7 separate regions of the Homo sapiens genome follow, and regions 2, 3, 4, 5, 6 and 7 are each linked to region 1. The links are contacts of gene promoters, found by promoter capture Hi-C in blood cells and fetal thymus (Javierre and others, 2016). All regions are on one chromosome and are shown on one strand. Each heading gives the region's core, a stretch centred on a gene start or on the middle of the fragment in contact. The rest is flanking DNA. Distances are from core to core; before and after follow the strand shown. Region 1 holds the start of NUDCD2 (NudC domain containing 2). Region 2 overlaps RNF145 (ring finger protein 145). Region 3 overlaps RNF145 (ring finger protein 145). Region 4 overlaps UBLCP1 (ubiquitin like domain containing CTD phosphatase 1). Region 5 has its middle 12 kb from the start of TTC1. Region 6 overlaps TTC1 (tetratricopeptide repeat domain 1). Region 7 overlaps PWWP2A (PWWP domain containing 2A).

Region 1 (4,104 bases), core at 787-3,286:
TCCACCTCCAGGGTTCAAGCGATTCTCCTGCCTCAACCTCCCAAGTAGCTAGGACTACAGGCGCCCGCCACCACGCCCGGCTAATTTTTGTATTTTTAGTAGAGATGGGGTTTCCCCGTGTTAGCCAGGCTGGTCTCGAACTCCTGACCTTGTGATCCGCCCGCCTAGGCCTTCCAAAGTGCCAGGATTACAGGCATGAGCTACCGCACCCGGCAAAATGTTGTTTTTAAAGTAAACTTTTAAAAACGTTTTAATCTTTTTGTTGGGCAATCGGCATTAAAAAAACTTTACGTATTCCAGATTTGATAGATTAGTTGTGACTAACTGTTCACAAACTCATGTTTTTTAAAAAAATAAACAAAATATAAATTTAAAAGAGACTGCACCAGGCCCAGTAGCTCAGGCCTGTAATCCCAGGACTTTGGAGGCCAACGTGGATTGCTTGACCCCATGGGTTTGAGGCTGCTGTGAGCTACAATCTCACCCCTGCACCCCAGCATGGGAGACAGGGACCCTGTCTCAATAAATATATATTTTTTTTTAAAGAGAGAATGCCTAAACTCAAATCCATTTTAATTTGTTGCCAAATTTAAGTTATAGAAAGTGAAATTAAATGTCACTAGGAAAAGCCCACATTTTAAAATATGTCAAAATTAGTGAGAAAAAAATCCCACTGGTCTATACGTACATCAGAAATCCCAAATTCAGCAGCTACTGCTAAATTCCGAAAGTTACTGGATTTACTAATTTATAATCGTAATCTAAAACCATTGTTGAGGAAACTATGAATTGTACAATTCAGAAAAGTAACTGAGATCCAAGCTGACATAATGTCTTTCACACGAATCTTGAGGCACTCAAAGCACCTCCATATACTGTAATATATATAATAGCTAATAGCTAACATATAGTATGAACTTATTACATACCAGTGAATACTCCAAGCTCTTCATACACGTGAATACCATGTTAAGCTCAAAACAATCCCATGAGAAGGGTACTATAACTACCTTATCTTGTGGATAAGGAAGATATAGAGACACTGAACAATCTCTCGCCCAAGTTTACAAAACTAGGAAACAAGTAGTCTCCCTTCACCATATTACACTGCCATCAAACATCTTGGGCATCTAACCTGAGAACTAAATCTAATTTCAACCTGTTAGTTTAATTATACACTTAACAAAGAAAAAGCGGGTCCAGATCCAAAGAGCATTGGTGAAAAGAAATAAAAGGAGTACTACTTATTTTATGCACACACCTCTTCACCACCTGCTTGACCACTCCACAAACATGCAGGATTTTCAAGCTTTTAGATGAGAAAACTAATCACCTGACATCATCTCTAAATTCTCTGCCCGTTATTCTATCCCTATTTTCTTTGTTGTCCTTTCCTATATTTATCTATTTATGAATTACGCTTCCGTACAGGAGCTTAACCTCTCCACTGCAGGTACGTTATCTGTTGTCTTCCTGCCTGTCTTCAGTGCACGGAAGAAATATTTGTTCCTTTAGCAACCTAGTTAATCTGTTCCCAGCTGAAGCCCGTCAGAGAAGCAGAAGCAGCAGTCTTAGTTTGAAAACTAAACACGAAAATAGGCTCCTCAAATTTCCACAACTCAGCACCTGCCCTGAAGAGGCGGGGGCTCTGACCAGACCCAAACCTGGTCAGTGTTATCCTCTTTCTCTTTCTGCCAGCCACAGGAGCCGTCGGGACACCCAACAGTCGTTCAGGGAAACGGGGCTGGGGGCGTCTGGGAAGAGGAAACTGAACACAAGCCCCGAGCTGCCGCTACCTTGAGGATCTCGCGGCCGCCCACCGACAGCGCCACATGCCGGCTCTGGAGGCCGCACTGGATATCCTGGGCGCGCGTGCCTGGCGGCACCTGAACTTCAATGAACACCTCCTCCAAGGTCTGGTACCACTGGCCCCACGGGGTCCCGCACGGTACCACCCCACTCCGCTCCTCAAACGGGGCCGACATAATCCAGTCCCTCCCGGCCGCGGCCGCACCAGGCGGAGCCGAGCGCACGCGCGGAATCCCACGCTTAGGCTACGCCTCGGCCTCTCCGCTCGGGTCACTGCGCATGCGCAGGAACGCAAGCTAGCGCTTTGGTGTGCGTGTTCGTTTTTCCCTTTGAATGGCCGTTTACGGCACCGGCAGGCCCCGGATGAAAGAACTGAAATCCAGAAAAGTTCACATGCAACGAACAATGGGACAGAATTGGAACCAGTGAAGCCGGAACTCACTACACCGTCCCCTAAGTGACGCCAAAATGCACTTTCTAACGTCTCCGGAGGGAAGTGCGCTTGCGCAAATGCTAGGTTACACTTGAGTAACTCCGGGAATGACTGGGTGGGTGGGGCGGGGAACAGTAACGGTCTCCTATTGGATGGCAGCCTAAACTCGCAGGCCAGCTAATTGGACGCAATCAGAACCCAGCATTCTTTCTTCGTGTTCCTGTGCGGGATTGGTGTGCCCAGGGGTTTGGCTTTCCAATTGGCTAACGCCGGGGTGGGTGGGGAATGTGGGGAGATTTGAATTTGAAACCGGTAGGGAGTGATAATCCGCATTCAGTTGTCGAGGAGTGCCAGTCACCTTCAGTTTCTGGAGCTGGCCGTCAACATGTCCTTTCCTAAGGCGCCCTTGAAACGATTCAATGACCCTTCTGGTGCGTAAGGGGGAAAGAGCTGGGGGACGGGAGACGCCCTAACGCCCTTTGCCTCTTTCAGCTCCCTTCTTGGGAGGCAAGCAGGAGGCGATTTTAGGGTCGGGCTGGGGCTCATTCAGTTGATTGATTTTTCTCAAATATGCTCTAAGCATCTGTTACATGCCAAGCACTAATCAGGATGCTAAGGATACCGCAGTGAAACAGTCTCCGCCCCGTGGGGCTTACATTCAGGCGGGGAATACTGTCAATAAACAGCGGTAATGGAGAAACTACAGCAGGGCGAAGGGAATGGACCCGAGACGTTGGTAGCTACTTGATTTTCAAGTCCGAGAGGGCCTCACTGATAAGAACACTGGAGTATTACTTGTAGTCTGAACTTGTGCATTTCTTTTGTGTATTCCATTTGGGCATAAAAGAAGGAAGATTAGTAAAGGCAGTTTATGGGTGTAAAATTAGAGCAGCAGCACTTATTGAAAACATAAACAATGAAGTTATGGCTGATATTGACCACTTATACCTCAAGCACCGTACTAAGGCTTTACATCGATTATTAGTTATGTTAATTTCCCACCAACTCTAAGGGGTAATCCTATTATTATTTTATTGATAAAAAGACTGAGACTTAAATTTGCTCAGTGCTACATTACCAAAGTGACCGGACTGGAATATGAACCCAGCCCCCATCGTGTGCTCTTAACACCGCAATGCACAGCACAGTAACCAGGAAGCCTTAGCTGTGTTTGGTAGGCACTCATCATTTAAGATGCTGTATGCGGCCGGGCGCGGCGGCTCACGCCTGTAATCCCAGCACTTTGGGAGGCCGAGGCAGGTGGATCACGAGGTCAGGAGATCGAGACCACCGTGAAACCCCGTCTGTACTAAAAATACAAAAAAAATTAGCCAGGCGCGGTGGCGGGCGCCTGTAGTCCCAGCTGACTACAGGCTGAGGCAGGAGAATGGCGTGAACCCGGGAGGCGGAGCTTGCGATGAGCCGAGATCGCGCCACTGCACTCCAGCCTGGGCGACAGAGCAAGACTCTGTCTTACAGAAAAAAAAAAAATGCTGTATGCTGGGACTGTGCTACTAGATCTTGTTTATTCCTTCCAAAAGCCAAGTGAGGAAGGTACTGATATTGACCTCATTTTACAGATGAGAAAACAGAGGTTTTGTATCTTGCACAATCAGTAAGTGGTAGAGCTAAATATTAAAGCTCATGATTTATTCACTATCATACACTATTTCGTGGTTACTCATTACGTCTCTAAGTTTTGTCAGCCAACGTGTGAATGAAAATACAACTACTCACAAAGGAAGGCCAAATGAGCAAGTGAATCAGCACAAACTTATTTTCTTAGTTAAAAGACTCAAGGACCATATGATTTCCCGAGTAATCAAAGGACCTACTCTTAAGTTTTGTCAGCAGTGTGGCTT
Region 2 (4,104 bases), core at 1,074-3,573, 4.3 Mb before region 1:
TCACAAACAAATGTGAAATAACTACCATCAACTATGATGATTAAGAAGATCTGAAACATGTCTAATAGTTTGAGCTTATTTAAATTGATTTTTCAGCCATCCTACCACTTGAGAAAATTATATAGAATGTTTGGCAATGTGTGTTATGGGGATACAAAGATGAATCTGATGTACTATAATTAAAATGTTAATTTGGAATGTTTTAGAAATCAGCTGATACAATTCTACCTCCCAAGAGATTAGCTGTTCCCTTACTATAAAAGGCTACCGAAGAAGCAATAAATTCAGATGTATTTCTATAATCAATAATCAGAATGCAGATAGAGAACTAGAAAAAAAACAGTGACATCGAATTTTAAGAAATTCCTTACAGAATTTCCTTGTATCAACTACAATAAAAAGACTGTATCTTTAAGGAACTAAATAATAGTTTGGCTTTTATCCCTCACAAAAATTTCTGGATACCTCAATTATCCTGATTTAATCATTATACAATGTATACAGCTCTCAAAATATCACACGAACCTCAAAAATATATACTACTACTATGTATCAATAAAATATAGAGAGTTTAAAATTTTACTGTAATGCAAGATGTACATGAATCCAACTATTAATTTCATTTGGTCCTATAAGTTGTCAAGAATCCTTATAATCCAGTCAGTTGAAATTGTCTAAAACTCCATCAAATGAGGCTGTTTTTCCATAAATGTCTATTTTATGATTACCTGATAGCCTCTATTTTCCTCTCCTTCATTTGCATTTCACTTAATGCTTTCTCTCCTTTAATTAATTTACACAGAATAAAATTAAATATTATTTGTTACATTTATTATGCTAGACTAAATTTTATGCTCTATGTTCTTAATTTTAAAATTGGACAAATATAAAAAGTATTAACTTCATCTGAAGCAGAAAAAGTTAACTTATAATTACATGGCCTTTGATGTCATTTTTAACTAAAAAATCTTGAGAGAAAAAAACAAAAGTCAAGTAAGTCAGACATCTCATATAGGAAAAATAAAAACATAAACTTGTTGAATTAACCTAAGCTAATACCAATTACCCATATCCATTTTCTGTCTCTAAATATTCCCTAAATATTTAGACAACAAATGCATGTAAAGAATATTACATGAGTTAATTTAAAGAATATTAAGAGGTTTCTTACTTGTCTCTAGATGCTCCCAGTGCCAAAACAATAGGATCTGCAATTTCTAACATAGACTGTAGGATAGAAGCTACGACAATGAAAAGGATAATACTGAGCAAGAATGCCCGATGAACAACCTGCAGTTCTATCAGCCCAGTCTGCACTGCCAGGATTAACAGCGTTACTCCTTCTGTCATGCCCCTAAAAAAAGCATACATTTTCAGAAAACATAAAATAATCTGAATCTCATTTAATTCAAAGAGAAAAATAATCCAAAGGCTTAGACTCTTGTTACATATTTTTAAATCTATTCTGACTTAATCCAGACTAAAAACCTGATCAGTATATTAACTTTGTAACATTAATGAAATAGTCATATATATCACTACATGTGCAAAGGCATAATAGCTATTACTTTACCACACAATGAGGGCAAAAATAATAACTTCTAAGACAAATAGAAGTTTTCCAACCAGATTCTGTAAATGAGCCAGATATTAACATCAAATACTGTATAGAAATCAGATTTTAACAGGGCTAAACTTCAAATGGGAAAAAGCACGCTTCTGAAAATCTCTTAAAGAAATCTAGGGAAGGAAGGTGCCCAATATTCATCATAATGTATTAATACATACAATACAAATACATCTTTAACATGGAAATGTATTTTTTCATAGTATTTTAACCCAAATGTTGCAACCATTCAAAAAAAACCTCTCCAATTCCATTTCTTCTAAAATTCATCAGCCAAAGAAATTCATCATTACTTCCTCAAGTTATCTATAGTATTTACATTTCTAGATATAATCAAGGAAAGAACTTACCGATTCATGGCAGGATCATTCATGAAAGCTCGATAACCCTGCAAGTAAAACTTGCAGAGTGTGAGAACACCCAAGGCAACAAAAGAAACCGTGAAGACCAAACCCAAAAGAGAGTAAGGAGTGCTGCAGCATTCCGCAATACTGGAAAAAAAGAGGGGGAAATTAACAGACATAAACTTTCCATTTGGAGTAAACACATTTGAGGCCTTTAAATAATCACCAAGCTTGATTTGATACTCATTAATTAAAACATCCTAAACCAAAATTTGAGGAGAAATCACCCAATTACTCCATTAATAATTTAACCATCTTATTCACCTTCAAACCCACATTTTTCTATCTCATTGGCAAATATGCAGTACATAGCACCAGATCTGAAACAAGGTCTTCAAATACAGTAAAATTCAAAGAGCCTAAATGTTCACATCTTAAGAAATATATAATTAGCATGCTGACAAGTATTCAAAAGAAGCTTGTACAGTTGCCCACTCTTCTTCCTGAAAAATGATGGCTGTTCAAATTGTTCACTGTGCTACATTATAATATGAATACTTGCTGCAACTCCTTATTTGACCAAACTGCTATGGAGCAGGGTGTATCACTCCTCCTACTCCATCAGTATCTTACATACTACTGCTATTTTTAAATTTAGGTTGAGACAAAGGCATTTTTTAAAAAAGGGTTACTTCAAAAGCATGCCCAATAATTTGCTCCAAGACTATTGAAAAGTAATTTTAATATTAATTTTTAACAAAAGTTTGCTATGATACTATTCATAAGGATAACTGGAAGACATTACACTAGAACTTGGAAATATTTTCATTGAACTTCTTAGATATTAACTTATATGTATTTTATAAATACATGTACTATTATGTACTGAGATAGATTTAGCATTTACACAATATCTATCTTATATATACGTATATTTATTTGAGACAGGGTCTTGCTCTGTTGCTAGGCTGAAGAGCACTGGTACAATCATAACTCACTGCAGCCTTGAACTTCAGGGCAAAAGCAATCCTCTCACTTCAGCCTCCCAAGTAGCTAAGACCGTAAGAGCGTGCCACTGCGCCTGGCTAATTTATTCTTTATACAGACAAGGTCTTGCTATGTTGCCCAAACTGGGCTAAAACTTTCTGCCTCAAGCGATCCTCCCACCTCGGCCTCCCAACGTATTGGGATTACAGGCTTGAGCTAATGCTCCCAGCCCTTATATAGTATCTACATCTTAAGCTTTAATTTTCAAAGAAGAATTTCACTGATATAGATGAGGAATTCATTCAGGCAATCAATGCTTGTCCCTTACTATGCAGCTCCATGCTTCTATATAGTTATCTTTCCTACACAATTGCTTATTAGTTGGTTTTTATGTGAAAGCATCTAATTTTACATGGTACCAATGTACACTATGATGAGAAAAAAAGTCTGGTTTTCTGTTAGGAGCCAAAATATCCACCAATCATGGTGGCTAATAACTAGAAAAAAATAATTAATTTTATGACATTCCTACAAATTTAATTTCTGAAATGTTTGGCATTTTCACACTGAAATCATTAGTAACAATTTTAAACAAATTGTGTACAATTTTACAACATGAGAATCATGGCTGAAAACCAACTAAAATTTTACTTCATTCTTATTGAAAAAGGCTGAAAATTTAACCAAAGGTCCATACTATTTCTCTATTTTTACGGACCTTTCTCCATATTTAGAAACATTTTTTACACCCACACAATATGATTTAATTACGTATTCAAACAGAGCACTTTCCTTTTCTCTTATTTTAGAAAAAAAAATGTGGTGCTATTTTTCAAAACAGAGCATACTAAATACCAAAGATTTCGACCTAGCTTTGGGGAAGTGAAAGAGTTTGGAAAATTTATAAAGTTTTTCTTTGCTCTCTCTTCATTCAGTAACTCATTTTTATTAAATCTTAATTTCTATTTTCTGGCTGCAAAAAAAACCTTTTTTTTGATTTGCAGTTTGATCTGGTGTGCTTTATTGTTGGTTGGTGTGTTTGTTTAGTCAGGGTATTCTGGTAAGCTCCCAATCTCTTTTTCTAAATAAGTTGTTTTTTTGGCAAAGAAACATAAACATTACCAGGCACACAAAAGCATGGATAAG
Region 3 (4,104 bases), core at 506-3,005, 4.3 Mb before region 1:
TAATATAGTTACTAAGCATTTCCACTGATTGTAGCTGAAGGATTTTCTAATGTCTATTACATGAAACTTCTCCTTAAACTCTCTTTTAACGAAACTGTCATTTTCCTTTCCAGAACGGTCTTGTCTTTTCTTTCTCCTATATATCGCATATAAAATCAGCGGCCAAATCTTCTAGATCAAACATATTCATTTCATCCATTCCTTCAATTATCCAGTCATTCAATCAACATTATTATGTGTAAAGTATGACCCACTTGCATTCCTAGACATGGAAGATCCAAAATTAATGTGAATAATAATCTAGTGAAAAGATAAGCATGGACAAAAGTAATTATTAGACAAAATTGATGCTATAATAAATGAACATTGGAAGGGCTATGGTTAAGTGATTAAGCTTGACTTGGATCTCTAAAGGTGAATGGTTCTTTACCAGGCTAAGAAGAAAAGGAAACATTCTAGGAAAAGAGAACAGCAAGCATGAAAACCATAAAAGTGTAATTTTCAGGGGACAGTAAATTCTGTACGTTAGACTAGACTTTGATGTTAACAGAAAGATTGGGAGATGATGCTGAAAGAACTAGCAGCTAAAGCCTCAATATAAAGCCTAAATACAATAATCAAGAATTTAGACTTAGCTAATGGTTCTCAAATTCTTCAATATCTATTTAGGTGAGGTAAGAGAACAGAAACCAAAACAACAAAAGCACCATTGCTCATCTATACCCCATTTTTATATTCCAGTGGAAAAGTAACTCTGTGATAACAAAATATTTGTGTAAGAAAACTTTGAGAGACAATGAATACTAACTATGAGAGCAGTATGAATGAACCATCTGAACTACGATGTATATATAATCTAACAATTTAAAAAATGCAAGCCAAAAATACTATTGACACAAACATGCATCACAACTCACTCTACAGCATTAACCAAACAATCCATAACAAACTAAGTTGACAATGGCAAAGCTGTTAGTTTTTAAATTATACACAGTAATTTGTAATTAAAAAGCAAGACCAGTGGCATTTAAAAATGATGACCTAGGCCAGGTGTAGTAGTGCACACCTATAATCCCAGCTACTCGGGAGGCTGGGGTGGGAGGATCCCTTGAGCCCAAGAATTCAAGGTTACAGTGAGGTTATGATTGCCAGTCTGGGTGACAGAGCATGACCCTGTCTCTATAAAAAATAAGGGTTGGATGTGTTGGCTCACATCTGTAATCCCAGCACTTTGGGAGGCCAAAGCAGAAGATCACTTGAGCTTAGGAGTTCGAGACCAGCCTGGGTAACACGGCAAATTCCTGTCTCTACAAAAAAATACAAAAAATTAGCCAGGTGTGGTGGCACACAACTGTGGTCCCACCTACTGAGGAGGCTGAGGTGGGAGGATCACACGAGCCCAGAAGGTTGATGCTGCAGTGAGCTAAGATTGTACCACTGCACTCCAATCTGGGCGACAGTGAGACTCTATCTCTAAATAAATAAATAAATAAATAAATAAATAAATAAATAAAAGAAATAATGACCTACGGGAACAGACTCTGAGAACAGAAAAAATAAAAAATAAATCAAAATGATGACCTGCTTAAAACAACACTGATGAATCTAATAATTTCTGCTATTTAAACATTATGGTAGTTGTAGGGTAAACAGCAGGACCAGAGGTAAGATGAGAGCCTGGATTGTAACAGTAGCTTTGGGTATGGAGCTGCCAGTCAGCCATGAGATACATATTTAAATAGGTCTTAGTGGTTATCTGTGGGTGACTAGTTGAGAACAAGGAAGTGAAGATCTGATGTTTCTAGCTTGGGTAATCAAGAAGACAGCTTTGCTATTAAGACAGGAAACACAGCAGGAGAAAGACTTCTGAGGTGAGAAAAAGGTGATGAGTTCAGTGATTGACAACAAATTGAAATGTCCATAGGCTATTTAGGTGGAAATGTCTAAGAAGTAATTCAAAATGCATTCATTCAGGGCTGGGCACAGTGGCTAATATCTGTAATCCTAGCACTCTTGGAGGCTGAGGCAGGAGGATCACTTTAGGCCAGGAGTTTGAGACCAGTCTGGGTAACAAAACAAGACCTTGGTATATGCCTGTAGTACCAGCTACTCCAGCAGCTAAGGGTTACTTGAGCCCAGGAGTCTGAGACTGCAGTGAGCCATGATCACACCACTGCACTCCAACCTGCGCAAGAGTGAGACCCTGTCACGTACATACATACATATATATAAAATTCATTCATTATTGGGCACCAGCTAGGTGCTGGGAATACTGAGATAATAAACAACCCCCTTCTTACCTTAAAGGAGCTCACAATCTATTAACAGTTGGGAAAATAGATAAGCATATGGACCCTTAGAATGCAACATAATAATTGCTATGGTAGAGATGTGAACTGGTTCCATGGAATCACAGAGGAAGAACATCAACTCCAGACTACAGTGGTCAAAAAGCAATGTAAAGTGGAGACAGAGATCTGCAGCCCAAACTACGTTCGGTCACCCAAACAACAAAAGATTAAAATTAAACACAAATTGTGGGCAATATCAACACTTGAGAAGTCTAAAGAAAACAAATCAAAAGAATCAGAAGCAATGGTCAGGGAGTTAGGAGAAAAATCAGGAAAAAAAAAAAAAACACTTTCAAGAAAGAGGAAGTGGTAAACAGCTCCATAAACATAGAAAAGTCTGTAGAATTAGGACATAAATGAGGGTTGAATTTTACATTTTAAGTCACTAATGATTTTAGTGATGGTAGTTTCAAAAGGATTTTCGCATCCATTTCTTCCTTTCTAATTTCTACCTTGCCAGTTCTGGCTCTCATTACCTCTTGCCTAAAATCCTAACTGGTCTTCTTACCTCCAGTTTCTCCCCTCCCCAATCCATCATCCTATAAAACGCTGCCTAATCAATCTTAAAATGCAGCTCACCTGCTCTAAAATCCCCACTGACCCACCACGACCTATAGAATTAAGCACCATATCTACTGTATGTATTCAGGATTCTTCACAAAAGCCCTATTCTACCTTACCAATATTACTTCTACTCCTCCTTTCATATCCTACACTCCAAAAAACAGTGGGCAGTCACTTCTCTTTCAGCAGAACCCACCCTGGAAAGCTTCTAAGTTTGAAGACACAATTACATTCCATTAAATACAAACTTTATTGCTCCCTCCCTTAATTTTTAAGCTCCTTAATTACAATTAGAAGACATAAAGGGGGAAAAACTCCCACTTACGATAGCAATAAAAAAGATAAAATACCTAGAAACAATAAATGTCAGGAGGCTGCGGCAGGAGGATCACTTGAGCCCAGGAGTTCCAGGCCAGCCTGGGCAACACAGCAAGAACCCATCCTCCCCACCTGCCCCCAAAATTAGTAATAATGCAATCTAAATTTTAAAAAAAATCAAATGGGTTGCTTTGTTTTTGGAATGAGACCTAGACAATTTTGAGACAATTCTTAAATTCACATAGAAAACTAACCATAAAAAAAAAGCTCAGAGGAGGAAATAAAGAAAACTGAAGGGACTAACCCTGTTAGACAGTAAAATATAATCTAAACCCTCAACAAATAAGACAGCGTGTTAATAGTTCACAAACAGGCAGACAGACTAAAGGAAGAGAAGTTCAAAAATGAAACAAAATATATGTGAGAATTCAGTATATAATGAGAAAAAAATGGACTAAATAGGTGAGGATGACTGTGTGGTTATCTAGAAAAAATAAAATTATACCTATAACACACTATTCATACAGATAAATGAAGCAAAGATTTAAATGTAAAAATAAACCCACAAAAATAGTAAGATAAAATACAACAGAATTCTTTATAAACTCAAGAATAAAGAAGGCTTTTCTAATTGACTCAAAATACTAAAGCTTAAAAACCTTCTAAATGTCAAAAAATCATAAGCAAAATCACTGAGTTGAAACTGGAAAAACTATTTTCAACTTATCACAAAGGATTAATTTCCCTAATGTATACCAAATTCCCACAAATTGGTAAAAAAAGAATCTCACAGAAAAGTGGGCAGGGTATATAAACTGACAACTCTCAGAAGAGAAAATACAGGTTTTTCTTAAGTATGTGTATGTTCAAT
Region 4 (4,104 bases), core at 435-2,934, 4.2 Mb before region 1:
TGACTTAAAATGACCTGTGTTTAAATATGAAATAGTTTTCATTTTTTAGCAAATTTCTAAAATGAAGCATGTATCACAATATAAACTTAAACATATATTGGCCAAATACCAGTGAGATAGTTAATTTAACTATAGGACATGAGTACATTATAGTGTAAGAATAAAAATGACTAATTTTCCCAATGACCCCACCTTGATTTGAAGTTTTTCCTTCTGATTTTTTTTTTTTTTAACTAGGCACATATCTTTAGGGTCTCGCTGTGTTGCCCAGACTGGTTTTGAACTCCTGGGCTCAAGTGATCCTCCTGCCTTGGCCTCCCAAAGTGCTGGATTACAGGCATAAGCCAATGTGCCCAGCCTTTCCTTCTGATCTTTGCTGTGAAATTCTTGATGCTTCAGAATATTTTTCTTTTCTCCTTTTTTCCTGACTCCAGTTTTAAAATACTTGGAAAAAGGTGTTTAAAACAAAATCACAGTGATATAGTTCTCTGGAAATAAAGGCAACTTGAATTACTTAAGGAAAAATTAATATGTGGACTAAAGCCAGTGACATTGAAATTGTGGTCTGCGGACCATTTCAAGAATGTACAGGTCTGTGATAAGATACTGAGTTTGTTCCAAGAAGTAAATATACTGTAATCGTAAGCACACTATTCAGTTCAATTAACGTTTTTTGGTAGCAAGATTTTCTTGGAAAATGAAGCAATGCATTGATTTACATCCCTCCTCCCCACAAATATTTAAAGTTGCCTCTTGGCAATGTCATAAGCAGAGAAGAGTTATCCTGACTGAATTAAATGAAGTCCCATCAAGTAAAGGTGCTACATTTCATTGTACTAGGTCTTTGAGAGAAATTATGTTAGTTGTTGCAGTCTGTAAATTCATTTTGTATTTTTCCTTATAATCAGAGTACTTCCGTTGTTTGTGATATGTGAGTTCCATGTGAGTTCACAGCTGTTAAGATTAAAATTATTGTCAAAATATATAATTTTCTGGTTTAGTAAGATAAGGTGAAGAAAGCTTGCTGGTTTGTTTAGCAACTTTGACATCTAAGATGATATTTGAGAAAAAAGTTTATCCTTTAAATGTTATTAAACTAGACTTATAAAATTTGAGAACCTTTTACAATAGTATATTTAAATTATTTTTATAAACTGTGATATTTTGTGGTAGTTCATTGAAAAGAGTACTTCACTTTGGAGCTAAATAGACTAGGATTTTAATTCTGGCTCTGTTCTTACTGTGTGACACTGGACAGGTCACTTAATCTTTCTGAGCCTTAGTTCCCTCACTTGAGAAATGAAGATATCTAAATACATATTACAGGTTAGTTGTAAGAATAGAAGTATCAATATAGCAACTAGTACTATGTCTGACATATAGTTACTTAATAATTAGAAACTTTTTATTAGCTGTGGGTCTTTTTGTTTTTCGTCTGATAATTACAGATACAAAGTAAGTACCGGATTAAAATTTTTTTCTATCTTATGATTATTTTCATTGGAGATACAATAGTCTTTAAAATTTTAGCTCAACTGACCAGTTTTGTACGTGTAAGGTGATTCTTCTGTTTTTTTGTATGTGTGCATGCTGAAGATTTTTTATTTTGAGAACTCAGGTTCCTCTTTTGCTTTTAAAAATCACACACACACACACACACACACACACACACACACTTCAAATAATTAAATTGCTTTTTCTCTTTTTAAACATTTTACTTGGTTATACCTGTATAGTTTAGTCCAGTAAACCAGGAGAGCACATAAAGATGAGGATTTAATTTTAGTATTAATGATCTCAAAGCTGGTTAATGTCTGACAATGAGCAGATACATGATGCAGGTATACTTCATGAATTTGTCTCATTTCTTGTTAGAAGCTGCTAGACTCAGTGAGCTTTAATTTGCTGAGACTGACAAAATGCAGATTTTCACTGAACCTGACTAGCTGGTTTTCAACATAAACTTTTGACACATAACAATATGCTTATATTGACACTATGTATACCTGTGCATTGCCTAGAAGTAGGAACATGGAAAAAAGTGATCCAGGCACCCAAGTTTAAGTTTGGAATTGATAGAGTGTCAGGGCTGATTTAAAAAGAGAGTTTAGGTCTTGATTTATAAATTTCCTAGGTTCAGAGTTCTTTTGAGCATGGATTACCTGTATCTTACAGATAAAAGTTGTTTAAAATTTATTCTGTCTTGAAGACACACTGCAGTAAGTTTACTTTTATCAATATTTAAAAGAAAATTACCATAAGTATGCTAGGGACTGTTAATTCTGATGCATTTAAACTTTTAGTTTTGCTTAGAAAACTTACTTATACAGATTTTTTTTAAAGAAATTCAAGCTTTTCATATGTATTGTATTATCATTCCTCGTGTTTTAGCTGCAACAAATATGAAGTGGATTGAAGCTAAAATGAAAGTAAGTGTTAGAAAGCAATCCATTTAAAAATATTTTCAAACTGCATTTGTCTTGTTAAAAGTTCTAGAACTGAATTAATTTTATTCTTACTGGAGGGCACTTAGTAGATAGATAAATGCCATTATTGGGAGTAGAGGTGTTTTTAAAGTGTGTTTAATAAGTGGATTGTACTGAATCCCTAAGTCTTTTTTAAGAAAAAGTATAACTAAGCTTGTCCCCTCCCCCACATTCTTCCTCATTTTACAATAATACTTTATTTTCCTTCTTTTGCTCTAGTGTGCAATACTTAAAGAGTCAGTATTCTCCTAAAATGGTAAATTAGGAAGTAATCTATTTCTATTTTCCTTGGTTTACCATTTATTGACTTGGCTAAGTGAAACTAAAATACTTCCTAGTTGTTTAGCAAGATGTAGTGGCCAGTGGTGTAGAAAGTTGGCATTATGAGAAATTGCAGCTAGAATATTCAGAAAATCTGAAATTTTCCACACTACTATGTTTTAACCTCACAAATATTTGTGTTTATAGGAGCTGGGAGTGAGCACAAATGCAAATTATAAGATTACTTTCATGTTGGATAGTGCTGCTATGATAACAGTACATACTCCAAGGAGAGGATTAATAGACGTAAGAAGTCATTTTATTTCTATTTAATGACACCATGGTTATTTTCCAGTGTACTTTTTATGTTTATACCTATGGAGTAAATAGTGTAGAGATTCATCTGAGTGAATAATAAAGTGGTTGAGTTTTGACATAGGAAAATGTATTTAAGGTTAAAAGATTTTTTTTTTTTTTTTTTTTTTTTTTTGAGATGGAGTCTCATTGTGCCGCCCAGGCTGGAGTGCAGTGGTGCAATCTCGCTCACGCAAGCTCCGCCTCCCAGGTTCACGCCATTCTCCTGCCTCAGCCTCCTGAGTAGCTGGGACTACAGGCACCCGCCACCACGCCCGGCTAATTTTTTCGTATTTTCAGTAGAGACGGAGTTTCACTGTTGTTAGCCAGGATGGTCTCGATCTCCTGACCTCGTGATCCGCCTGCCTCGGCCTCCCAAAGTGCTGGGATTATGGGCGTGAGCCACTGTGCCCAGCCAAGGTTAAAAGATTTGAATTTTAATGATAAAATTAGGGATCTTGAAGTAGGACTGTCAAGAAAGGAACTTGTGATTGTGGGTAATTGACCTGTGTTGATGACAGCACAATGTTACTGGGCAGAGTAGGTGAGAAAAATACTGAATATTATCAAGGAAGATACTAGAAACAAGCGAAAACACTCACCCTGCCCTGTTTGAAACTGGTAATAAAAGCAGATGCATCATGATGCATGTACTTTGGGATGATGCTGAAGAATAGCAACAAGAACAATCAGAGAAAAGGGTTTGGCTAACCAGTTATTTTACTCATCAAGTAACTACTCATACTATTAAGTATCTACTGTCTGGAAGGCCCTGTGATAGGCACTGTTGGGAATAAAGAGATGAGTGAGACACAGTCCATATCATTTGAAAGCACCCAAACTGTTAGCTGGGCTGGATAATGCATGCCTGTAATCCCAGCTACTCAGGAGGCTGAGGCAGGAGAATTGCTCAAACCCAGGGGGCGGTGGTTGCAGTGAGCTAAGATTGAGCCACTGCACTCCAGCCTGGGTGACAGAGCAAGATTCTGTCTCAACAAAATAA
Region 5 (4,104 bases), core at 694-3,193, 3.5 Mb before region 1:
TTCCAAATTTTAGCCTGCCCAGTGTACTTCTGGGGACCCAACCAGCCCCCAGTAGAGAAAGACATGTGCCTCACTTCTAAGCCCGACATCTAAGGAAGCCACTTTGGCAGGCATTAACATCTTCGGTGGTCCCTAACCATCAGTGCTAAGGAAGTAGTGTCAAAGAAAACAAAAGAGCCAGGTAGATAAATGGCACCATCCTTCGACAGAACTGTAGGCCAAGTGTGCCTTCGGGAACCACAGGCCATCCTTGCCCCTTGAACCCTTGTAAGTCCTACGGGCTCACGCATGCCCCGCACGACCCACATGGCCCCAGCTCATATGGAAGAAAGCCTAGCAGAGTGGTCACTGGAACAGGGAAGGCATCTGGAGTCCAAAGCTTCTTCACAGCTCCTACAAACTCTCCACCACTTCTCATCCCACTTTCTTCCTGTAAAGTCAGCACTGCTGGCAGAAGAAATATCTCGGAGGCTTAGGCAAAACATTTGAGGAATAAAAGAGAAGTTGCTTTAGTCCCCTCAATTTACACAACCCTCTTAATTGCCTCCATGTCTGTGGTTGTTAGCCACTAATTATTAGGTGTTTCGTCTGTGTCAGCATTTTCATAAACTGTTCCTCTCCCTGGGACATGGTAAGTATTTCCTCAGGCTGACTTTGAGGCAGTGGACCAAAGCTGCAGCTGGAGAAAGCGGGCTGGGGTTGGGGAGGGCTTAATGGGATTTTGAGTCTGTGTGAGTGATTTTTAAGCTGTGAGTCAATTTGGTAGAAAGAGCACTGAACTGCAATCCACTGAAACAGTAATAATAATAATAGCTGCTTTTTGCTGTGCCAGGCACTGCCTAAGTCCTCTGTATCTTCTAATCCTCACCAAAAAACCTTAAATGAAGGACTTAGGGCTCAGAGAGAGTAAGTCACCCAGCCAGGAAGAGCTGTGTATCAGTTAGGGGAGTGAGTTTGGCTGCACATAACAGAACACACATAACAGTGGCTTGAACAAATCAAAAAGGGCTGTTTGTTTATTTTTTCTCTCATATGAGAAGTCTGGAAGTAGGCAGTCTGGGGACAGTGGGGATAGTATGGCAAATCCACACTGTCAGGAGAGGCCCATGGCCCTTCTAGTGTTTCCCTACTCTGTCCTTAAAATGTGGCCATAATGTCCCTCTTCCAGGCAGGAAGAAATATGGCAAAGACAAAAGGCACATACAGGGCCAGGTGTGGTGGCTTATACCTGCAATCCCAGCCACTCAGGAGACCAAGGTGGGAGGGTTGCTTGAGCCCAGGAGTTTGAGACCAGCCTGGACTGCATAGCAAGATCCCCTCTACAAAGAAATTTAAAAACAAAAAATTATCCAGGCATGGTGGTACGCCCCTATAGTCCCAGCTACTCAGGAGACTGAGGCAAGAGGATCACTTGAGCCCAGGAGCTGCAGGTTGCTGTGAACTATGATTGCACCACTGCACTGCAGGCTGGGCAACAGAGTGGGACTCTGTCTATAAAAACAAACAAACTGGCCAGGTGTGGTGGCTCATGCCTGTAATCCCAGCACTTTGGGAGGCTGAGGCCAGTGGATCACCTGAGGTCAGAAGTTCGAGACCAGCCTGGCAACATGGTGAAACCCTGTCTCTACGAAAAATACAAAAATCAGCCGGGCATGGTAACGGGTGCCTGTAATCCCAGCTACTTGGGAGGCTGAGGCAGGAGAATCGCTTGAACCCAGGAGGCGGAGGTTGCAGTGAGCCAAGATCGTGCCACTGCAATCCAGCCTGGGTGACAAAGTGAGACTGTCTAAAAACAAACAAACAAACATTCTCCTCCAGTGTGGCAAAAAGAATTTTTGAAATCAAATAAAAACAAACAAAAAGACACATACAGCTGAGTTTGCCCTCTGTTACAGAGATTTCCAGAAAGTCTCATCTCTCTGCTTCTACTGTGTTGTGTGGCCAGTTTTCTACAAATGCCTATTGTGTCACTGGTACTGTGCTAAGATTTTACATATATTGTTACATTTATTCCTCATAACAGCCTTATAGAGAAGGAATTACCAACCTCTGGGTTCTAGTTTATTCCCTGCTATGTGGCTAAAATGTCTTAGATAAATCACATTCCCTCTCTGGACCTCATTTGTTCATCTGCTTTATGAGGGATTGGACTAGATAAGGAGTTCCTAACTTGAGATCTACAAACCCCTAAAGGGACAATGGATAAAATTTAGAGGGAAGGGTCATGACTTTAGATAGGGGGAAAATTACATTCTTATCTTCACTAACTTTTTTTTTTTTTTGAGACAGAGTCTTGCACTGTCACCCAGGCTGGAGTGCAGTGGCCCAATCTCGGCTCACTGCAACCTCTGCCTCCCAGTTTTAAGCAATTCTCCTGCCTCAGCCTCCCAAGTAGCCAGGATTACAGATGACCACCACCCCGCCTGGCTAATTTTTGTATTTTCAGTAGAGATGGGGTTTCACCATGTTGGCCGGGCTGGCCTCAAACTCCCGACCTCAGGTGATCCTCCTGCCTCGGCCTCCCAAAGTGCTAGGATTACAGGCGTAAGCCACCGCGCCTGGCCTCTAACTTTTAACTGAAATTTAGTTTTTCCTTCTTTTATGAACTTAGCCAATAGAACATAGTAATATTAGCAGAGCTTTTGACTTTATCACCAAAAGAATATCAGATATTTCATAGCATATTACAGTTGTTTCAGATGACTTGAAATATTGAATATACTCATCACTACTTCAAAATTGTGGTAGTTATTACACCTGCTATACTTAATGTGTTAATAAAAAGGAGTGTGTGTGTAGACAAACAGAATATGTAGATACGTAGATATATATATCTTGCTAATTTTATTGTTAGTATTATAGGAACTGTATTTCAATATAATTTATTTCCTTCATATTCCAGTATATTTTGTTTTATGCATTTAAAAAAATTTCTCTGAGAAGCGATCCAGAGGCTTCAGCAGCCCACCAAAGGAGTTCATAGAACAAATGAGATGAAGAACTGGACAGAGATCTCTTTGTCCCTCCGGCTATAAATATAACTCTGTCATAAGCTATCGTGGTCTTCCTGATCAAGTCCTTTCAGCTCTCAATTTCCTCAGTTTCTCTTCGGTAAAATGGAAGTAATACTTGCTTTGTCTAGCTCAGAGCTGTTAGGGGAACCAAAGTAATCTTCATGTAAGCACACACGAATGCAGAGCTTACGCATTTTCAATTACACAGGATCGGCTTCTGTAGTGCTGAGTGAATGTTGAGTCTTACTATATTCTTCAACTTGAGACCTATTTCCCAGAGACGCTGATGTTTTTCTGTCACTTCCATGTAAGTGTCCTGCTACAACCATATATTATCTTTTTAGTGCCAGTTTAGGGCTGAATTCATATAAAATTCAATAATAAAGGGGGAACTGCATCTTAAGTGCACTTGGATGGAACTACTTACGAAAATAGAAGATAAAATGAGATTTCGCCAATGGGTCTTGTAGCTCCAATTATCTTAGGCTCTTTGAAAAGCTTGAGTCAATGTACTGTGATTTTAAGTTATAGATCAAACACAGTTCATTTTGTCTACAACTTCTAAACCGGGATAAATGGACAAAGGACAGAAAAATAAGGAAGGTTGGTTTGTCTTGTTCATAATCTGTGTCTTTGGATATCTGTGAATACTTATTAAATATTCATCTAAAAGTCAGCTTAGGTAGCCATAATTAATGTTTCAAATAGCCAAGTAAAGATCTACAAATATATTTTGTTTGTTTGTTTGTTTGTTTTTAGGACAGAGTCTTACTCTGTCACCCAGGCTGGGGTACAGTGGTGTGAACACAGCTGTATTAATCCGTTCTTGTACTGCTATAAAGAAATACCTTACACCCTCTACCTTTGTAGCAGGGGATCTTGCTATGTTGCCCAGGCTGGTCTCAAACTCCTAGGCTCAAGCAACCCTCCCACCCTGGTCTCCTGAGTGGTTGGGATTACAGGTGTGAGTCACCACACCTGGCCCTGTATATGCCTTTTATCTTTGTCACATTTCTTCCTGCCTGAAAGAGGGACATTATGGTCACATTTTAAGGACAGTGCAGGAAAACACTAGAAAGGCCATGGGCCT
Region 6 (4,104 bases), core at 949-3,448, 3.4 Mb before region 1:
ACAGGTTTTGCACAATCTTCCTTCATTAAATAGCTGTTGAATGAATAGCATCTTTTTCTCCCCCATGAGAGCCAATAATTGGCCTTATAAGTTACAGAAATTTTTTTCTCACATTTATTCAAGTAATATTTACATTTCTTCCACCCACTAGACATTGTTTGAGGCCCTGAGGGATACAGTGGTGAACAAGACAGGGTTTCTGTTCTCTCATTGGAGAATTAGGACAAAATGTTAACATGAAGGATGGGTTGGGTTGGAAGGATGGTGCTATGGTTTGAATGTTTTCCTCCAAAATTCATGTTGAACTTAATCCTCAATGTGTAGTATTAAGAGGTGGAGCCTTTAGAAGGTGATTAGAAGAATTAGTATCCTTATAAAGTATACCAATAAAAGACTTGAGGGAACCTGTTGGGCCCTTCTACTCCCCTTCCACAAAGTGAGGATGCAGAAAGAAGGCACCATATTGAAGCAAAGAACAAGCCCCTTACCAGACGCGAAATCTGCTGGTGCCTTGATCTTGGAATTTCCAGCCCCTAGAGCTGTGCAAAATAAATTTCTATTATTTATAAATTACTGAGTCTGTTATTTTGTTATAGCAACCTGACTAAGACAGGTGGAGAGGACTGCTTTAGATTGGCTGGTCAGGAAAGCCTCTCTGGAGAGGTGGCCTCTCAACAGAGACTTAGGGGAGGGTGGCACTGGGAGCAGCCAAATGTGTGACCGTCTGAGAGGGAAGCATTGCAGACAAAGAGAGCAGTTGAATAAAGCCCTAAAGTAACAACAAGTTTGGTGTTTTGGCATGTTCAAGGAATGGAAGAGCCGATGGCTGAAGCATGATGATTAAGGAAGAGAGTGGGCTGATAGTAGGCAAGGGTCTGATTATGGAATAGTTCCTAAGCCGTAGTAAAGAACTTGAAGTTTTTTCCAAGTGCAGAAGGAAACAGATGGATAATTTTAAGCCAGGGAGAGACGGAAGTTATTTACATTTTAATAAGAGAATTCAGTTCTTATACAGAGAATGGAGGGGTATGAGGATGGAGGAGGGACATGAATAGAACATTTGAGCCCAATTAGGCTCTAATGCAGTAGCCCAGTGAAGATGATAGTAGCTTGAACTGTGGATCTGAAGAGAAGTGTATGATTTTGGGATATATTTCAGAGGTAAAGCAGACCACACATTGCAGTGGATTCGATTGGCGGGATGGAGTGAGACGTTAGAATGATTCCTTGTCTTCAGCTACTGGATGGATGGTGTGGCCTTTATTAATATGAAGAAGATGAAGGAACTTTGAACTTATCCAGGTTCTGGTGATTTAATTCTTTCCTGCAAACAAACATTTTTTATTTGTAAGCCAAAATGCAGATTTAGTCATTTCAATGGGTTTGCTCCCTTTCACTAGTGGTTTGCAAATGGTATTCATTTACATGTACACATAAGGGATCCAAAAGTCTGTTGCTTGGTGAACATGGATTCAGAATGCCTGGTATCTGGGATTTTAAAACATTAGGCTCTGAAAGTTTTAAGGATTATTCTTTAAGGTCATTTTCTCTTTAGGAACCATTATCAAAGCTTAGAAGTTTCAGTTTAGAACAGATGTTATATTTCAGTCTCTTCCCTCTGTCATTTTTCCTAAATTCCACATTACTTAATCTTTTGGATTTCCATGTTTCTGCCACCCTATTGCACCATTTTCATAATCTAATTAATGTTGTGGCTGTGGATGTGTTTGCAGGGAATACTCTCGATTGCTTCCAAAAAGTTCTCAGTAACTTCTTCCATAGTGGCCTGCATAGTCCTGTTAACGTCATGAGCAACCTTTCTGATTTTGTTGTTTCCCTTTTCTTTCATTCTTTTTTTTTTTTTTTTTTTTTTTGAGATGGATATTCCCTCTCTGTTGCCCAAGCTGGAGTGCAGCGGTGCGATCTCTGCTCACTGCAACCTCCGCCTCCCGGATTCAAGCGATTCTCTCTCTGCCTCCCGAGTAGCTGGGGCTACAGGCGTGTGCCACCACACCCAGCTAATTTTTGTATTTTTACTAGAGACTGGGTTTCACCATATTGGCCAGGCTGGTCTCGAACTCACATCATGATCCACCCACCTCGGCCTCCCAAAGTTCTGGGATTATAGGCATGAGCCACTGTGCCCTGCCTCCTGCCTCCCTTTTCTTTCATTTCTTGTTTTCTTTTTGTTGTTGTTGTTTTCTGTTTGTTTATTTTGAGACAGAGTCTTGCCCTGTCGCCCAGACTGGAGTACAGTGGCATGATCTTGGTTCACTGCAACCTCTGCCTCCCAGGTTCAAGTGATTCTCCTGCCTCAGCCTCCCAAGTAGCTGGGATTACAGGTGCCCACCACCACACCCAGCTAATTTTTGTATTTTTAGTAGAGACGGAGTTTCACCATGTTGGCCAGGCTGGTCTCGAACTCCTGACCTCAAGTGATCCGCCCGCCCCAGCCTCCTTTTCTTTCATTTCTAATAGGCATCCTTTGGAACTAAGGTGGTCAGTTTTACCAACTTCTTAGAGTTACCACTGTTGAACTTAATGCTGTCTACAAACGATTAAATCAAATCCTAGAAGGAGCTTAGATTTCTGATCCCAAGTTTGTTTATTTTTATTTTTGTAGAGGCCCTTTCACTTGGCCTCCCAAAGTGCTGGGATTACAGGAATGAACCACCCTGCCTGGCCTGATGCTAAGTTTAAACCAGTGGAAATAAGGGTTGCTTGCTCTAAAACAGGGGTCGTCAACCCCCGGCCATGTACTGATACCAGTCTGTGGCCTGTAAGGAACCCAGCCACACAGCAGGAAGTGAGCAGCAGGCTAGTGAGCGAAGCTTCATCTGTATTTACAGCCACTTCCCATCGCTTGCATTACTGTCTGAGCTCCACCTCATGTCATATCCATGGTAGCATTAGATTCTCGTAGGCTTGTGAACCCTGTTGTGAATTGCACATGCAAGGGATCTGTGTTGCCTGCTCCTTACAAGAATCTAATGCCTGATAGTCTATCACTGTCTCTCATCACCCCCAGGTAGGACCGTCTAGTTGCAGGAAAACAAGCTTAGGGCTCCCACTGATTCTACATTATGGTGAATTGTATAACTATTTGATTATATATTACAGTTTAATAATTATAAAGTACACAATAAATGTAATGTGCTTGAATCATTATGAACACCCCCTTCCCCAAGACCCTAGTCCGTGGAAAAATAGTTCCCCACAAGAGCAGTCCCTGGTGCCAAAAAGGGTAGGGACCGCTGCTCTAAAACATTTGGAAGTTAGTGAGGTGTGTTTACATTATTTGCTGGCAGAAAAGTTAAAATGACGTTCAGTATTTCCTGTGTTTATTAAGAAAGGTCACTTTGTGTAGATCAGTGGTTTCCAGACTTTATTGTGTCTAAGCATCACAGGAAATGTATTAACCATGCACAGCCTGAGAAGTGTCTGACACCACACACCTGTGAGGCAACAACCAGGCATCTGTTTTGTTAGCAAGCCTCCCAGGTAATTTTGATATAGGAAGAACTGTGGCCACACCATGGGAAACAGATCCAGATGGACACAGATGACTAAGCTTCCAAAACAAGAAGTATTGACCTAACCCGTACATTGACTGCATCCAACATCGGAAGAACTGAATAGGAGGTTTTCTTTTACCTACATCCGTTGATCAAGGTCTAAAAACAACTTGTTGGGCCGAATTTAAGCAGTCCTGACATAGAAAATTTATTTCTGTTAAAGATTGAGTTTTGGGAAATAGAATTTTCTGATTTAAGAAACAAGGGACTATTTCCAAGATTAATTCCTCATAGATCAGTCATTTTTTTCCTCAGAAGGATAACACCTACTGAGAGGCAGGTTCTAACTGTGGCTTAGATCCAAAGATCCTCCCTCATGCCTCCCTAGAGGACCTGTAAAGGTGACTTGTGGAAAGAACAGATATGTCTTTATGTATGTAAAGCAAGTGATATCTGATTTCAAAGAAGACAAAACCAAAAGCTTATTTTTTTAATGATAAGGAATTCCCTTCAAAATAATTATAGAACTGATGTCCCTAGCCCTTCCAGTATTTGCATTCCAAGTGTAGTTTTCTTGTCCCACCTAGAT
Region 7 (4,104 bases), core at 783-3,282, 3.4 Mb before region 1:
AACACTTAGGAATGGGCCGGGTGCAGTGGCTCATGTCTGTAATCCCAGCACTTTGGGAGGCCGAGGTGGGCAGATCACGAGGTCAGGAGATCGAGACCATCCTGGCGAACACGGTGAAACCCCGTCTCTACTAAAAATACAAAAAGATTCGCCGGGCATGGTGGCAGGCGCCAGTAGTCCCAGCTACTCGGGAGGCTGAGGCAGGAGAATGGCGTGAACCCAAGAGGCAGAGCTTGCAGTGAGCTGAGATCACACCACTGCACTCCAGCCTGGGCAACAGAGCAAGACTCTGTCTCAAAAAAAAAAAAAAAAAAAAAAAAAAAAAAGACTACTTATGAATGTATACATGCATCCATATATACATAAATACACACACTTAAGCAAAAGTTTCACCAAGTACTTAACCTTGTATTTTGTGATACATAATTTCTTTTCTACTCTGGCCTACTTCATTTGCTTTAAGGCTAGTCAGACCCATTAAACTGATTTGAAAACTCCATTACGGGTCCAGACTCTGTTTGCAAACCATGGTATCTAATACGAATCTTTAAAATTCTCAGTTTCTAATAACCTTATTTCATAAATAGAGTTAGAAATAACAGTGGCTTAACGTGCCTGGGCTGAATATCAAGAACCTGATCCTTAAAATAAACTTGCTATACTAAGTTTTCTTCACATAAAATCAAATCACACTACCAAATAATTTCAGCATATAGGTTAGCATGTTGACTATATGCACTATTTGATTCCAACAATATCTAACACAATACAACTGTAATGCCAATCCTGTAAGGCAAAGGGGCTTAGATCTAAACCCAAAGATTGGCTTCAGGTAGTCAGTCACGTGGAACCTTCAAAACTAGATGCCAGTGTTTTATATATGTCTATATTTTCTACACTACAAATCTTCAGTGCTCAGATTCTCCGAAATGTTCTTTTTTTTTTTTTTTTTTTTTTTTAAAGACAAGATCTCACTCTGTCATCCAGGCTGCAGTGCAAGTGGTACCATCACAGCTCACTGCAGCCTCGACCTCCTAGGCTCAAGCAATCCTCCCGTCTCAGCCTCCCAAGTAGCTGGGACCACAGACACACGTCACCATGCCTGGCTAATTTTAGTATTTTTTGTAGAGACAGGGTTTCACCATGTTGTCCAGGCGAATGCCTGAGCTCAAGCAGTCTGCCCACCTCAGCCTCCCAAAGTGCTGGGATTACAGACGTGAGCCACCGTGTCCAGCCAGAAATGTTCTTATGCTCCCAAAAAGGTTCAGAATACCTTTGCTAGGAAGAAATCTTGATATTAGGTACTAACAGCTGTGGACAAACCTAAACGTGGGCAGGATTTACAAAGAGCCAGCATACACCAGGTATTATTCTAGCACCTGAATACTTTTTTCCCAAAATTCTTTGTTAGTCTGGCTACCACAAACCAACAACTTACAGCAAATACTTACAAAACATAAAAAGGAAAGGCTTTTTTTTTACCTACGGTAAGACAAGATTAGGTCTCGGATAGTCCAAAAAGGAAAGGTACCTCCTATTGTATCAGACTGCACAGAAAGTTGCTTTCTCCATTCTAACTTCTGGTAACCAAGTGTTTGCTTCCTGACTACTTAACTCAAAGTAACTTTAAGCATTTAACCCTTTCTTACACAGTACATAGGTGCTCATTAACCACTTTTTCAAAAGATGACAGGACAAAAGAGGTGCTTCTTGTGTTTTAATGCAGAACCAACATAAACAATGTGACTTATTTGATGTGATATCACTACTTGCATTAACAATAACATTTTCTAACTTGTAAGAAGGCATAATTTTGCCCCCATCACATGTTCACGTTTCAATACCTGAATGAAGAGAAGTGCCCTTCCTCTTACTGATTTATAAAATTTTTTTATAGAGACGGTGCCTCACTCTGTCACTCAAGCTGGAACGCAGTGGTGCAATCATGGATTGCTGCAGCATCAACCTCCTGAACTCAAGCAATCCTCTCATCTCAGCCTCCCAAGTAGTTGGGACTACAGGCACCTGCCACCATGCCTGGCTCCCTTCCTTTTATTAGGACTAACTAAACCATACTTATCTTAATGTTTGAGGTGAAGTTTCACAGCTGTCTTTTATCAACTGTTTGTATCCTCTAAACTCATTTTTGCATGTGTAAAATGAAACACTATTTCTGACCTTAAAAGGATTCAGATAAAGATCAATAGGTGAATACGCGGCAGCCATTTTCCTTGGTTAATATTTACTTTATTTAATTTGCTTCATGTAAGTGATTTAATCTTATTTTCAAACTAGTAACTTACAGCCTGATGCAGTGGCTCACGTCTGCAATCCTAACACTTTGGGAGGGTGAGGTGGGCAAATTGCTTGAGCCCAGGAGTTTGAGACCAGCCTGGGCAACATAGGAAGACTCCGTGTTTCTACAAATAGGAAAAATTAGCCTGGTGTGGGGGTATGTACCTGTGATCCCAGCTACTTGGGAGGCTGAGGTGGGAGGATTGCTTGAGTCTGGGAGGTCAAGGCTTCAGTGAGCCATGTTCGCGCTATCGCACTCCAGCCTGAGCAAGTGAGTAAGCCTTTGTCTCAAAAAAAAAAAAAAAAAAAAAAAAAAAAGGCCAGGCACAGTGGCTCACGCCTGTAATCCCAACACTTTGGGAGGCCTGAGGTCAGGAGTTCAAGACCAGCCTGGCCAACATGGTGAAACCCCGTCTCTACTAAAAATACAAAAATTAGCTGGGTGTGGTGACACGCGCCTGTAGTCCCAACTACTCGGGAGGCTGAGGCAGGAGAATCGCTTGAACCCGGGAGGTGAAAGTCGCAGTGAGCCGAGATCGCACCACTGCACTCCAGCCTAGCAACAGAGAGAGACTCCGTCTCAAATAACATAACATAAAAATAAATAAAACAAATACAAAAACAAAAAACACCTAATAATTTACTAGAGGTTTTTTTTTTGGGGGGGGGGGCGGTTGTTTTGTTTTTTTGAGACAGACTCTCACTGTCGCCCAGGCTGGAGTGCAGTGGCACAATCTCGGCTCACTGCAACCACCGCCTCCTGGGTTCAAGCTATTCTCATGCCTCAGCCACCTGAGCAGCTAGGATTACAGACGCGAGCCATCACGCCTGGCTAATTTTTGTATTTTTAGTAGATGGGGTTTCATTATGTTGGCCAAGCTGGTTTTGAACTTCTGGCCTGAAGTGATCCACCAGCCTCAGCCTCCCAAAGTGCTGGGATTACAGGCGTGAGCCACTGCAACCAGCCAATTTTGCTAGAATTTAGGCTCCTTCCCATGTCTTTAATTTATACTCTCAATGCAAGTATGGCCCAGCCAATTATTTTATAGCTGTTTATATCAAGTAATGGAATCTGGTATGTTTATCTTTATGAAGTTCAGTAAGAATGTTAATATTTCGCAACTGGATTGTTTTTATTCTCTGCTGTTCCCACATAAGCATACAAAATACTCAAGCGTTAAATGCTTTTAGTAACATAGGGAAGAAGCACCTAATTGTGTAATGATGAGTGAAAACTACAATAAGGGGGAAAAAGGGGAAATAAAAATGGTAATTGTGTGTGGGTAGTGAATGCCTGGCAAAGCGGAAAAATATTTCAAAATAATAATAAAACATCCTCAAAGGACCAAAAAGATAAATCACTTTAAGAAGAAATGGGGATCACATGTCTGTCTTTGCTTCATTTCAGTAACCATGCTGTCACCCTTACACAGATAACACCTAGGGCAGTGTTACCAAACTAAGGATGGAGACATTAATTTTGAAATCAATTTCAGGGGTCACACTATGATTAAAATAAAATCAGAGTTAAGAGTAGAAGTAAATATCTGTAACTGCAATGAATCTGTTTCACACATGTATATAAGGATATATGGATCCAGATGTAAAACAGATTTTCTAAGTAGGCTAAAATGTTTGAGAACCACTAACCTATGAAACTATAAACTTAATAAGAATATAAAGTAGAAACAAAACTATGGTCCCTTAAAAACCCTAATTTCTCCTAGCCTGACCAACATGGTGAAACCCCGTCTCTACTAAAAATACAAAAATCAGCCAGGTGTGGTGGTGCACGCCTGTAATCCCAGT

What was found. Contacts are between HindIII fragments. The CHiCAGO score rates a contact against its expected background, and 5 or more counts as called.
Region 2: a contact is called between a fragment that was not itself captured here and the fragment with the promoter of NUDCD2 in region 1, in 1 of 17 cell types (naive CD8 T cells). The highest score is 6.3, in naive CD8 T cells.
Region 3: a contact is called between a fragment that was not itself captured here and the fragment with the promoter of NUDCD2 in region 1, in 2 of 17 cell types (naive CD8 T cells and total CD8 T cells). The highest score is 9.6, in naive CD8 T cells.
Region 4: a fragment that was not itself captured here is called in contact with the fragment with the promoter of NUDCD2 in region 1 in 1 of 17 cell types (total CD8 T cells); the score reaches 10.6 in total CD8 T cells.
Region 5: a fragment that was not itself captured here is called in contact with the fragment with the promoter of NUDCD2 in region 1 in 2 of 17 cell types (total CD4 T cells and naive CD8 T cells); the score reaches 6.2 in total CD4 T cells.
Region 6: a fragment that was not itself captured here is called in contact with the fragment with the promoter of NUDCD2 in region 1 in 3 of 17 cell types (total CD8 T cells, activated CD4 T cells and naive CD8 T cells); the score reaches 7.0 in total CD8 T cells.
Region 7: a contact is called between a fragment that was not itself captured here and the fragment with the promoter of NUDCD2 in region 1, in 2 of 17 cell types (naive CD8 T cells and total CD4 T cells). The highest score is 6.2, in naive CD8 T cells.

The regions. Positions count from the first base shown.
Region 1 is chr5:163,458,066-163,462,169 of GRCh38, forward strand. It overlaps NUDCD2 (NudC domain containing 2), which reads right to left and starts at 2,037. Exons shown (of 4, transcript NM_145266.6): 1 at 1,797-2,037. The coding sequence starts at 1,985. HMMR (hyaluronan mediated motility receptor) reads left to right here and starts at 2,567. Exons shown (of 18, transcript NM_001142556.2): 1 at 2,567-2,673. The coding sequence starts at 2,628. RefSeq lists enhancers at 1,754-2,003, 2,754-2,813 and a silencer at 2,334-2,423. The HindIII fragment of the contact is 3,644 bases long and covers 1,308-4,104 here.
Region 2 is chr5:159,167,702-159,171,805 of GRCh38, forward strand. RNF145 (ring finger protein 145) reads right to left here. Exons shown (of 11, transcript NM_001199383.2): 7 at 1,978-2,118; 8 at 1,172-1,354. Among named protein-coding and RNA genes, the nearest start is that of RNF145, 40 kb to the right of the region's middle. The HindIII fragment of the contact is 248 bases long and covers 2,200-2,447 here.
Region 3 is chr5:159,196,766-159,200,869 of GRCh38, forward strand. The region is part of intron 2 of RNF145 (ring finger protein 145); the gene reads right to left. Among named protein-coding and RNA genes, the nearest start is that of RNF145, 11 kb to the right of the region's middle. The HindIII fragment of the contact is 2,726 bases long and covers 393-3,118 here.
Region 4 is chr5:159,272,194-159,276,297 of GRCh38, forward strand. UBLCP1 (ubiquitin like domain containing CTD phosphatase 1) reads left to right here. Exons shown (of 11, transcript NM_145049.5): 7 at 2,392-2,429; 8 at 2,955-3,053. Among named protein-coding and RNA genes, the nearest start is that of UBLCP1, 11 kb to the left of the region's middle. The HindIII fragment of the contact is 1,332 bases long and covers 1,019-2,350 here.
Region 5 is chr5:159,995,453-159,999,556 of GRCh38, forward strand. No RefSeq gene overlaps it. Among named protein-coding and RNA genes, the nearest start is that of TTC1, 12 kb to the right of the region's middle. The HindIII fragment of the contact is 3,133 bases long and covers 378-3,510 here.
Region 6 is chr5:160,017,730-160,021,833 of GRCh38, forward strand. All of the region lies in intron 2 of TTC1 (tetratricopeptide repeat domain 1), which reads left to right. It overlaps LOC124901124 (a long non-coding RNA gene), which reads left to right. Exons shown (of 2, transcript XR_007059025.1): 1 at 1-1,302. Among named protein-coding and RNA genes, the nearest start is that of TTC1, 11 kb to the left of the region's middle. The HindIII fragment of the contact is 1,261 bases long and covers 1,569-2,829 here.
Region 7 is chr5:160,094,752-160,098,855 of GRCh38, forward strand. All of the region lies in intron 1 of PWWP2A (PWWP domain containing 2A), which reads right to left. Among named protein-coding and RNA genes, the nearest start is that of PWWP2A, 23 kb to the right of the region's middle. The HindIII fragment of the contact is 7,889 bases long and covers 1-4,104 here.